Regions from separate parts of the Homo sapiens genome. Here region 1 is linked to region 2. Evidence: promoter capture Hi-C in 16 types of primary human blood cells and fetal thymus (Javierre and others, 2016). All regions are on one chromosome and are shown on one strand. The core of a region is centred on a gene start or on the middle of the fragment in contact, and the rest is flanking DNA. Distances in the headings are between cores, read along the strand shown.

Region 1 (6,263 bases), core at 3,764-6,263, about 34 Mb after region 2:
GACTGAGGCAGGGAATCTCTGGAGCCCAGGAGTTTGAGGCTGCAGTAAGTTATGACTGTGCCACTGTGCTCCAGTCTGGACAACAGAGTGAGACCCTGTTTCTAAAAAAACAATAAAAATAAGTGACTTAAGATACAGCAGCTAGTTATCCTTAGAGATGTCACTGGATTATGAACTGATAGGCTCATGTTTATGTTTATAAATAGTATAAATAATATGTATAAGCTCAAATAATAGGGATGAGAAGGGAGGAGGTGAGGTCTTAGGTTTCATTCATTTGGCAAAAGCCTGTGATGAACCTGTGGGTCAGGCACTGGACACCTGATGAGGAGGAAAGAAAGGCTGTATAATCTGCGCTACCAAGAAGAAATCTGTATTCAATTCCTGGCCCTGCAGTAATCATCTGTACGCCTTTCGGCAACTGCTCTGGGCCTCAGTTTACTTACTTGCAAAACAAAGATGAGAGTCATACTCAAGCCATAGAGTTGATGAAAGGACTTTGATGAAGTATGCTTATAAAGTGCTAAGGCAATAAGAACAAACAATAATTACAACCATAACCACCTTTATTACACATTCCTGTCCTCAAGAGCTTAGTATGCAGAGCTTAGCAAACAGGTGACTGTAACTGGATAAGATGGTTAGTGTAATGTACAAAGTGAGGTGGGTGTGGGGAGAAAATTCTCCAAGGCTACTGTCTTGGGGAGTCAAAGAGGAATCACAGGAGAGAAGCTCTTAGACTTAAAAGAGAGTAGAAATTTACTCGGTAGTCAACCCCCCTCCTTTCCCCGCTCCTTCTTTCCTTCCTTCCCTCTCCTTTTCCCTCCCATTCATCCATCCTTCTATCCATCCACTCATCCTCTTATTGGGCACCAACCTTCTATCAGATGATGTTTTAGTTTCGGGGATATGATAGTACCTGTCATAAGCATACATTCTTGCAATGAGTGACAGATACTAGACATGGATACAAGCAGATAAGAATTCCAGATAGTCGGGGAACAGTGCCATGAAGAACCTAAAACAGAACCAGGGGAGAGAAGATGGCCTAGGGGTTGGGCAGGTGGAAGCAACTTTAGCTAGGTGATTAGAGGATACCTCTCCAAGTCAAAAGAGGCAGGTTGAATAATGAGAAGGAAGCCAAGATCTGGAGGAAGAATGTGCCAGGCTCAGGGAGCAGTGAAAGCCCAGAGATGGACAGTGTCTGTGCTTGAGGGGCAGAAAGAAGGCTAGCAGGGCTGGAATGAAAGAGGAGGGAAGATGTAGGTAATCAGAAACTTAATCTCAGAGGGCTGCATAAGCCAGGAGAAGATATTTCAACAGATTTTCAAAATTCCAAGGTTTAAAGGCAAAACAAAAACCCAGTCGAACACATGTTTTCCTCATGCTTTAGAACTCTTTTCAAACCACAAAGGAAACCTGGCAATCCACCCCACCCCCCACTTATTCCCTAAACTTCGTTATATAAGGGCCAACATCTTCTTTCATCTGTTGCCAGACCAGATACATTTGGCATCCTAAACAAGTTGCCAAAACAAAGCAGAAAGCTCAGCTTAAACTCTGTTAGAGGATGTTCTAAACTTCACAAAACACAATTCTCTATGTTTTCAAGTATGTTTATTTGGACAAGGTATACGGATATGAGCACAGACATAAGGAACCAGCTGCACAGAACCAAGACAATCTAGTAAAAAATTACTATTCAGCAGTAAGGAAAGATAAAAGCAGTCTTAAGTGTAAACAAGTATTTTTGCTTCATCTAGTGTTTATGAGCAACAAATGGCCTCAGTGTGAACCAGCAATGCTGAGAAGGACACAAACACGTATTTGCTAAAAACATTCCAGGCTTGGCGAATAATAAAGCAGCAGGGTTTGTTTCCTCTTTGATGAAGGTCCCCTCCCGTCAAAGGCTGCACCTTAAGCCTCTGCAGCTTAAGGTACAAGAAAGGCTCACGCTTGCTCATTCCCAGGGCTCTGCTTAGAAGCATGTAGCTAGGCCAGGTGCGGTGGCTCACGCCTGTAATCCCAGCACTTTGGGAGGCTGAAGCGGGTGGATCACTTGAGGTCAGGAGTTGAAGACCAGCCTAGCCAACATGGTGAAACCCCATCTCTACTAAAAACACAAAAAATTAGCCGGGCATGGTGGCACACACCTGTAATCCCAGTTACTCGGAGGGTGAGGCAGGAGAATCGCTTGAACCCAGGAGGTGGAGGTTGCAGTGAGCCAAGATTGCACCACTGCACTCCAGCCTGGGTGACAGAGCAAGACTCCATCTCAAAAAACAAAACAAAACAAAAAAATCCATGGAGCTGGGGTTGGTTTGTGAACCAAAGCAAGAGATTGAGAGGATCTTTGGCTTCTCTGTCTCTCACTACGGCATCTTTACATTCTGCACAGTCTGGAAACTTCCAATTTCAAGACATCTGCCCCATCTGCACCCCCCTTGCCCTGATAACCTGGTTCAGAGAACCAGGTAGGTTCTCTGGGCAGCACCACCTGACTCCCCACAGGACACATAGATCAACAAGGGCCGTTTTTTCACCTCTGATCATAAGCTCTTTCAACTGGCGAGTTTTCTTAAAGAGGTGGTAAATACCTTGCCTTTGGGTCAGACCCTATGGTTAGTGTGCTCTTTATCTTATTGAAACCATGAAGAAGCATTAACCTGTGGGGTTTATAATAAGAGCAGAAATTTAATTTCTGGGCCTTATGAAGGCCCAAATTCTACAACCCACAGACCCACTCTTCCTGCATCCTTCAAAGAGTTTTCTGGTAGCCCCTCAGACATTAAAACCTGCTTAGATGGTGACTGGATTTGTCCTCTTTAAAAAATTACAGAAATATGGACACAGGCTGCAGACATGTGGCTTGCTGACCAAGCTCCTGGGTGGTCTTTCCATAGAAATCATTGACATTCATTTGTCTGTTCATCAATGACTGAGCAAATAGTATGAGCAGGCACTGTGCTATATCCTGGGGGCAAATAGACCTAAAATGCTCACATTTGCTGCACTCAGGGATCTTTGGTCTACTGAATGGGGGGAGAGGGTGAATTTTAATTACGAAGAACTGTTACTTAGAGAGCACATGGTGTGTGTCACATTGGTACCTCCAGGTGGAGAGAAATGCAAGATTTGCTTTGCAATCAAAAGCAGAAACCACAGCTCTCTGATAACATTATGGGCCAGTCCAGGTCTGTCACCAAGAATAGACTTCAATAAGTCAAGGTGTTTCCCTATCTGTTCAGCCAATGCTAAGCACCACTAAGCACTATGCAGTGGTACATCTCATCTGGTTTGGGTGGTGGTGGTAGCTCCTGGAAGTCACGGTGCTCAGTGCAATGTACTATATTCTTGGAGAAACACCAAGAAAAAGCAGCACTCGCAGCTTCATGCATTTTGTAATCTGTAAACCTTTGAGAGCAAACAAGCAGTAGCATTAATGCTAAAGGTGTAAGAAAAATTTTAAACGGAAAAAATCCCAGCCATTGACTTCATCGTTATCTGTAAATTGGAAAAAAGCTGTGATTCTTCAATTGCACTCACAAAACAAGGCCCAATTCCTAAAAAAATCAAAACAGTTTGAGACCCACTGGTACAGATGGCGAAAAGAAAAAAGAAATGAAAGCATTCACTTGCAGATTCTAGAAGAAAAAAAAACTAACAGGCATGGCCAGATTTACTAAAAACCCACATTACAAACAAACAAACAACAACAACAACAAAAAACTCTATATTTACAGAAGGGAAAAGTATGGGTAACTATTTGCTTTATAAAATGGATCACTGTATAAGCTTCTTTTTAAAAAAAGACAAAATAGTATATCCCCAGAATGCACTTTAGAATTCAATTGAAAGAAGTTTGACTACTATACCAATCATAGCACTGTATAAAATAAGTCCCACAAGGGCACAGAAGGAAAAGGGGGCAGAAGAATGTATATCCGCAGCAAGTCCTTGAATCTGATACCCCATTCCCAAGATGTGATTTCAGACAAAACCCAAACAAAATAAAAACCAAATGGTCAGGCAAAAACACCTGTCCTGCCACTGTTCCTTGGACCCCGCCAGGCCTCCCTGGGACTCCAGCCTCCTCTCATAGACCCTTCCCCCTCGTTGGCAGCAGTAGGCCCCAAGACAGGTTTCCCTCTAGCAGTGATTCCCAACCAGGGGCATTTTGCCCACAGGGAATATTTAACAGTGTCTGAAGATATCTCTGGTTCTCACAGCTGGGGAGGGAGTGCTACTGTCGCCTGGTGTGTAGAGATCAAGGATGCTACTAGACATCCCATAGACAGTCCCCTGCAACAAACTATAATCCCATCCAAAATGTCAATAATGCTGAGGTTGAGAAACCCTGTTCTACAGGAGCCAAAATCATGACCATCCCTCCAGAAAGTCAGGTTACAAGAACTGAGTAGTTCACTTTCTGTCCTTTTAGGTGAGCTATTGTTTAGTTGAAGAGAAAAATCTGCAGGCTTCTGTTGTCAGGATATAATATTCCCTGAGCTTACTGGATAAGCCACTGATGCGAGGATTAGACTCACTGACACATGAAAATGCTTAGGCAACCGCCTCGAAAACATTGGTCAAAACATTCTAAGTGTTATAAGGGATGCTTGGCAAGGCCTCACGCTTAGTCTTAAAAAGCCTTCTCAAAAGTAATTTATACCAATGAGCCGTGGCAAATTCACCTATTCTATAAGTACGCAGTGACTCAACAAGCCTTTTGATCCATTTATAGAATGGCAACAATTATATTTTAATGAGTTATTTTCACTTACTTGTCAGAACCTGTTTTGGTAATCTAAATAACTTCACATCCTCTTAACATTCCTTATGAGGCTGTCTGAGAGAAAAACAGGCTCAGTTTTCTTTTAAGTCTCCAATCTCAGCTAAGTGACAAATGAAGCTGCTATAGCGACCACACTCCTGCTGGCTTATGGCCAAACTCACGTTTTCTTTTTTTCTTTTCCAACATCATAAATCTATTTTTTTCACAGATGAAATAACTTTCTGGTCCCATTTCTTCTTTCATGCTAGTATAGCACATTTTAAAACACTTTCCCCCCAAAAAAAGTCTTTACAGTATGATTCGATTAATAACTGGGTTTTTAGGAAAACTATTTTCAATATAAAGGCCAGAATCTCTAGATTTCTTTTACTGCATATCAAAGGTGGAAAGAGAGGCAATTGTCAAGCTCTTTCAACCTAGAGCCGCAATAAAACATGAATAACATCTAAACATTTTGTTTCCTTATTTTCATTTATTGGGTATTTCTTAAAGAAAAAAAAATCTCATAATTTACAGTAATAGCTAAATCTACTCATTCCCACGTGCCACTTCCACCACCAAATCCCCCAAACAGGACTCAAATGTAAATTTCACAGAGCTCTACAAACCACAGACAAAACAAAACAACCCCAAAGTCTGAAAACCACAGTCTCCTTTCAATCTTGCGGGTAGCAGCCTAAAAAAACATAAGCCTTGTTTAAAAGGTCAACGCACTACACTTCTCAGTGAAATAAATAACCAGCCTTTCCTGCCCTTCAGTCTAGTTCTGTATCGATGAACAAAAGCTCCTGTCGTTTCTTTTGTATCATCAGGAAAACAAAAAGTTTACATAAATGTATGTCAGGGCAATAAAAGTGACTTCTGTCGCCAGCATCCAGCCACCACATTTGGAGGATCCGAGCGGCCTCCGACCTCACGAAGGAAGCCAGAAATCTCACATCTGCCACGCAAAGCAAAGGACATAGGTCACCTTGTGCAATGTCCGCTTTACCTCAGGCCAGGGTTCCTTTTCTTCTAATTCTGTTCCTTGGCTGTGCTGAGCAGAGAACTCCTCCAGGCTTCAAGTTCAGAACACGGCCAAGAGGCTTTGTAGATGCCAGACCTCAGCCCGACAGACTGAGGCTCCCACCTGCCTGGGTTACATATCAGGCTTCTCTCCGAAGCTCGGCTAAGGCAACGTGCATCCCTCTAGAGACGCACTCCGGAAACCAGCCCCGTGTGCGGCGGGCAGGCACGCTCTCTCACGCCTCCTCTCCTCGCTTTACTTACTAGTTCAACACACCAGCAACCACAATGGGCCAGTCCATGTTCCCAAAAAAGGAGGGGGAGTAGATTTACTTTCTTTCTTTTTTTAAATGCAGGTAGGAAAGTACCATTTCTTTGCATTCACTCACTATTGTCTGCATGTGAAACCGACAGTGATTGTCCCTGAGGCATAAGCTTGTACTGAAACGAGATTCTTAGGCTT
Region 2 (6,048 bases), core at 3,415-5,914:
AAGAACAGCAGGGCTCAGGAATGTAAAGTGGTTTGCTCAAGATCATGTTGAGAACTAGGAGAGCTTGGACACCAACTCCCTCTTCTGTTCAATCTCACCCTGACCTGCCCATTGCCCTGTAAACACACACAGAGGCTGCAGAGTGGAGCCCAGGGTGGGAGTGCAGCACTGGGGACCGACACAGAGGGCTATAGAAGTCAGGGGAAGACAAAGGGCAAGCTCTTCCACTTACAATTTTATCTGTGGCAGCTTCAGGTCCAGGAAAAAGATAAGAAACTCTCAGCTTTTTTCTTTTCCTCCTTCCTATACTGTTTTTTGTTCCCACAGTCCATACATTAGGCTTGCAGTCTGCACTACAATTCAGTTATATGCTTGGCAATTATGGTTCTAGGTGCTAGCCAGGAAGGTAAACCACTGGTTACAATACAACCCTTTTATGAGTTGGGGCTGTCTATATTGAATTTTTTATTTTTTAATAAAGGAGAATAAAATAGACCTGTTTTGCATTTCGTGTCTCTGAGGCTCTCTCAAGCCACTCCATGTTGCTGTAAGAATGGATCAGATAGGCCAGGCACAGTGGCTCACGCCTGTAATCCCAGCACTTTGGGAAGCCAAGGTGGGCAGGTCATGAGGTCAGGAGTTCAAGACCAGCCTGGCCAACATAGCGAAACCCCACCTCTAATAAAAATACAAAAAATTAGCTGGGTGTGGTGGCACGTGCCTATAGTCCCATGAATCCAGGAGGCAGAGGTTGCAGTGAGCCCACGCCATTGTACTCCAGCCTGGGTGACACAGTGAGACTCCGTCTCAAAGGAAAAAAAAAAGAATGGGTCAGATAAAGCTCTGTGGGTCTCTGCTACAGCTGGGAATGGCAGGTGAGTGTCAGATGTGACTGTCTGGGGCATGGCAGGGAAGGCCATGCTGGCTTTGTGGGTATTCCCACCACACTTTTCATAGCAGCAGTGTGGCCAACTATTCCAGAAAGGACACATCTCCCAGACGCTGCTCAGGCCAGCAAGATCTCCAAAACCGCTCAGTCCATGGTTTGCAAAACTGGCTTCCCCATCTCCTTCCTCCTTGTTCTAGCTCATGACCTCCTGCACATGCAGGATTGAGCAGAAATCACCAGGTGTGAGTAATCATCTTCCCAATCCCAGCCTTTACCGGAAACCTCTCCTCGGCCTCCACACTCCTCTCCTTAATGATGGTGGAGGCGTCCCTTTGTAGGAGGTGACCCTCGTTAGTGCCTATACCCTATCTCCTTTCACCTGCTCTTCCTATCATGGCCCCTGCCTTCTTCTTAGATCATTCCTATCAGTGTGCAAGCCTGCTTCAGTGACTCCCATATTTTAACAAACCCCTCTTTATTCCAACAAATGTTAGAATTAGATGTGGCTACATGTGCCATAAAACAGAGGATTAAACAAGACAGAAATGTCCTTCTCCCATAAAGAAAGTCAAGAGGTAGTAGTCCAAATGTGTGGTGGCTCCCTACACATTAGCATCCACATTTATTCTCACTTCCACTAACATCCTCAACACTTTGGCTTCCACTTAAGATCCAATATGGATGCTTGAGCTCCAGCTATCTATTAATATATCCTAGTGGGCAGGAAAGAGTAAAGCACATGACTTCCCTTTAAAGCCAGTTTTGAATTTGCACATGGACTCCTACACTTACTTCCTATTGGGAGGAATGAAGTGTAGCTGCAAGAGAGGCTGAGAAACTTGCCTTTATTCTGGGAAGCCATGTGGCCAGACAGAATTAGAAATTCTATGAAGGGAAGAGAGAATTACTACTAGGGGCATCTAGCAATCTCTACCAAAGCATCCTATGCTTCCGTATCCTTTCTAGATCCCTCCCAGTTCTCCATTCCCTGTTAGACAAGTTGTGCAAATATGGTAGCTCTACCACAGCATGGCTTCCACCACTACTCCAGGAACACTGCCCTCATCATGTTCACCAATTGCCTTCATGTTGCCAGAGCCAACAGGTCCCAGTCCTCATCTTACCTGATCTCTAAGCAGTGTCTAACACAGCTGACAACTGCTTTCTGGAAACATTTTCTCAGTCTCTGGGATACTCCTGATTCTCCTTCTGCCTCCCCAGTCTCTTTTTCAGTCTTCTTGCCTGCTTTGGTTCCCCTGGGTCCCTCCTGAACTCTCTCCTCTTCTGCATCTACTCCCTCACCCTGTGTGTCCTTCTCAGATCCCGTGGCCTTGAGCATCTTTATGCTGATGTATCCCAAAGCCCCTCTCCCGCCCTGGCCTCTCTTCTGAGTTCCTAGTGATGAGATAACCCCGCTGGTTCTCTAACAGGCATCTGAAGCTCCATGTGGCTTGAACAGAATTCCTGATGTAACTCCCTGAGATGTGGTTCATGCTTTTTGATCCAATAAATGAAGCACTATCCACCCACTTACCCCAGCCAGAAACTTGAGTTATCTTTGGTTTCTCCATTTCCTGCCCCCATGTCCTTCCTATCAATGTGTCCTCTTAAGTCCAAAATAGCATCTCTCAACTACTCATCTTAGCATGACCACCACTTTGGTTCAAACCACCATCATCTTTGGCCTGGATTGTGGCAAGCCTAATTGGCTCCCTGCTTTTATTTTTGCCTGACACCCACACACAGCCTTAAATCAGAACATGTTAGTCTTCTGCATAAAACCCTTCCAAGGCTCAACAAAGTCTCCATTCTTTGACACAGCCCACAGGCCCTGCATGCTTTGGCCCCCACCCACCTTCTCACTCCATCCTGGGCCTCTTCCCCTAGGCTTAAAACTTCAGCCACACTGATTTTCTTTCAGTTCCCTGACCCATCCAGAACTTACCCTGAAAAGGCACCTACTGCTCTCAGCGAGGAATGTCTCTGCCCAACTTTTCCCAAGGCTAACTCCTTACTCTTTTGACTTCAATTTCAGCATCGCCTCCTCACTTTCCCTGACTGCTTCATCTAAGGTAGCTTTTATTCTCTATTCTAGCCCCTTGTTTTTGTCCCAGCCTTTACTTCAACTTGTGATTATGTATTTGTCTTCTCCACTAAAAATTAACTTTATTGGGCAAAAGGCCTCAGCTGTCTTGTTCACTGAAGTATCCCACCATGCACACAGGGCCTGGCATATTATCAGGCACTCAGACAAACACTCACTATCTGCTGAATGAATGGACAGGTTCCCAGGGAGTTTCCAGAGCTGCCTGGGCTGTCACAGACAGGTTGCATCCCTCTTAATTAAACAAACAAATAAAATTAGCCAGGCACCGTGGCTCATGCGTGTAATTCCAGCACTCTGGGAGGCAGAGGCGGAAGGATTGCTTAAGCCCAGGAATTTAAGACCATCACTGGCAACACAGCAAGATCTCGTCTCTACAAAAAAAAAAAAAAAAAAATTAGCTAGGTGTGGTGGCCTGCACCTGTGGTCCCAGCTACTTGGGGAAGCTGAGGCGGGAGGTCGAGGCTGCAGTGAGCCATGGTCATGCCACTGCACTCCAGCCTGGGTGACAAAGCGATACCTTAGCTCAAAAAACAACCCAAACAAACCTGGGAATGGACTGAACAGTCTCCATTTCAAGATTTCCTCCTTCCATTGGAATTAACCTGTTGGTTGCTTGTACTGGCATGTGGCAACCAGTCTTAGCCCAGTTTTAATAGATCCCTGTTTGGTGTTACTCAACAGAGAAGACCACTCGGCCCTCAGCCACCGAATAAGTTTAAGAAACAGAGGTGTGGCATGCTTCATTCTACAGGTAGGGAGGCTGAGGCTGGGGAGCCGCCCCTGGCTATCCCTGGAAACCCCTCTACCCCACAGGAATCGTCCCAGCCATCTCTTTAGCGTAAAGGTGAGGAACAAATCTCAGCCACGATCCAAAGAGGGGCGCCACCCCTGGCTGTCCCTGGAAACCCCCCTACACCACAAGAATCGTCCCAGCCACCTCTTTAGCGTAAAGGTTAGGAAGAAATCTCAGCCACGATCCAAAGAAAGCTTGGTATTTTTAGCACCAAGGCCAGAAGGAGCGTGTCCTTACTCCTTGGTTTACAAAGAAATAAAAACCTTTTCCCCATCCTTCTTTTGATTGAAGACTACCCCCGCCCCCAGGCTCCAAAGCCGGGCAGGAACGCCTCTTATCTCCACCACAGCCATTTTCCTAATCCTTCGCCCGCTCTCCACGGTCATCCCGTGTATCCCTCGAGACGCCGCCTCCCACAGCTCGTGCTTCTCCCAGGTTCGGCTCCGACAAGGCCAGAGCGGCGTCTGCGCAGCGCAACGGCTCAGAGCGCTCCCGGCGGCTACAAGTGCCCGGCCCCGGGCCAGGCCCGGCCTGCGCCGCGCACCCACTGGGAGGGCGCGGACCGGGGCCGCCCCAAGCCTCCGGCACCGCCCAGAGCGGGACAAAGGGGCGGGCCGGCGACCCGGCCTCGCGGTCCCCGGTGCCGCGCGGGCCGGGAGGCGGGGTGCGGTGGGGGAGGGGCGAGGCGGCTGGGGGAGGGGCGGGGCCAGGGCGGGCCCAGGCGCCCGGGGCCGCACCGGGCGGCGCAGGGAAGCGGCGCCCCTTCCTCGGCAGACGGCAGGCGCCGCGCCTCCGGCCCCGCCCCTCCGCGCCCCTCCGCGCCCCGCCCCCGCCGCTCGGACGGCCCGAGTCGCGCCCTCCCGCCCCGCGCCGCGGAACTTGCTCTAACTTCCTCGGCCGAGCCGGGCCGCGCCGCCGCTGCCGCCGCCGCGCGCGGGTGAGTAGAGCGCGGAGACCTGGCTGGGGCGTCGGGCCCTGCCCCTTTCTTTGTCTGAGGCCGACTTCCCCGAGCGTTCTCCGGGGGCGAGGGCTGCTCCTTAGGTCCCTGTTTGGCCCCTCAGCCTCCCTCCCCGCCTGCCCAGGAGCGGCCCCGCGGGCGGCGCTGGCTTTGTCTGCCAGGATTGCTCGCTAGAGGTTGGAGGCCTCCGCCGGGACCCCGCTGAGCCGAACTCCGGCGCCGCGCGGACGAGAGCCGCGGCGGGCCCGGGGCCGGCACTCCTGGTTCGGTAGCCCTCGCCCCATCAGCGCGCCCCGGCGAGTGCGCGCCCGTGCCGGGCGGGGTGAGGGCGACGGGAGCCTGGACGGCCGCTGCTGCTCGGGGCTCTGCTTCTCGTCCCCAGCAGCGAGCTCGGGGATGGGCCACCCTTTCGGCTCAGTCACCCACCCTCGGCTCCCAGGAGATCGGGTCCGGGGTGGGGGTGGGCGTAGGCCGGGGCGGGCCGCCCCTTCCTCCTGCCCCGCCGTGGTTGTGCTCAGTCTCCCACGCCGCCGTGGGTCCCACTCTGCCCGGCTTGGGTTTGGGACGGCCGGAGTTTGAGTAGGCGGTGACCCAGCTTCTCCGCGTTAGTCGTGTGGGGTTGTGTTTGGGAGCAAAGCCTGACCCCTGACCTAGCCGGAGTTCTGGTAGAGTGAGGTTTGTGGCTGCGGACTGTGCTTGTCCCGGGCCGCTGCTGCTTCTCCTCCACCCCCAGGGGTGGGGTGCGGGTGGGTAGGAAGTGCCTGTGTGAGGGTGTGTGGAGGGACTTTGGCCCTGGGACCGCAGGAGCACTTGTCTTGGGGACTTAAAGTTGATCTCCGGCGAGAAACAGTCCGTGCTAGGGGGAGTCGGGGGAAGTCGTGGGCCCGGGTACTGGCCTGGGGCTGGGCGCAGAGCGGTGGTGAGTGCGGCGGTGTCACACACTCGTTGGCTGTGCTGGCGCTGCTATCCGGGAGGTCAGGCGGTGCTGGGCGGCTGTGCAGAGCATTGTATTGGAGCCTCTGCAGGTGTGCTCTTGGCAGTGGTCTGCTCTCCAGGGGATCTTCCTCCCTTCCGAGAGGGAGTTGCTCTTGGGCTAGTGAGAGAGTGGCCTGCCAAATCCTCAAAAGTAGCCTTCCCCTTGCCCCTTGACCTTGAAGTCCAGAAGCAGTTAGTGCCTGCTGAGTGCTCCGGCCACCCTTCTCTATTTGTGAAGGGAAACCTGGGGACAGGCCATCGGAGCACCCCTATGTCCTTGCCACATTTCAGCTAGCCGAGTGGTTGGTGGGGGCGGCCGTCTTTCC

Evidence for each region. Contacts are between HindIII fragments. The CHiCAGO score rates a contact against its expected background, and 5 or more counts as called.
Region 1: a fragment that was not itself captured here is called in contact with the fragment with the promoter of TSPAN14 in region 2 in 1 of 17 cell types (non-activated CD4 T cells); the score reaches 24.1 in non-activated CD4 T cells.

The regions. Positions count from the first base shown.
Region 1 is chr10:114,520,874-114,527,136 of GRCh38, forward strand. All of the region lies in intron 6 of ABLIM1 (actin binding LIM protein 1), which reads right to left. Among named protein-coding and RNA genes, the nearest start is that of AFAP1L2, 120 kb to the left of the region's middle. RefSeq lists enhancers at 5,756-5,875, 6,046-6,263. The HindIII fragment of the contact is 2,440 bases long and covers 3,794-6,233 here.
Region 2 is chr10:80,449,646-80,455,693 of GRCh38, forward strand. TSPAN14 (tetraspanin 14) reads left to right here and starts at 4,665. Exons shown (of 9, transcript NM_030927.4): 1 at 4,665-4,726. RefSeq lists silencers at 1-242, 4,261-5,310 and enhancers at 4,021-4,230, 4,974-5,491, 5,441-5,700, 5,731-5,780. The HindIII fragment of the contact is 5,289 bases long and covers 3,982-6,048 here.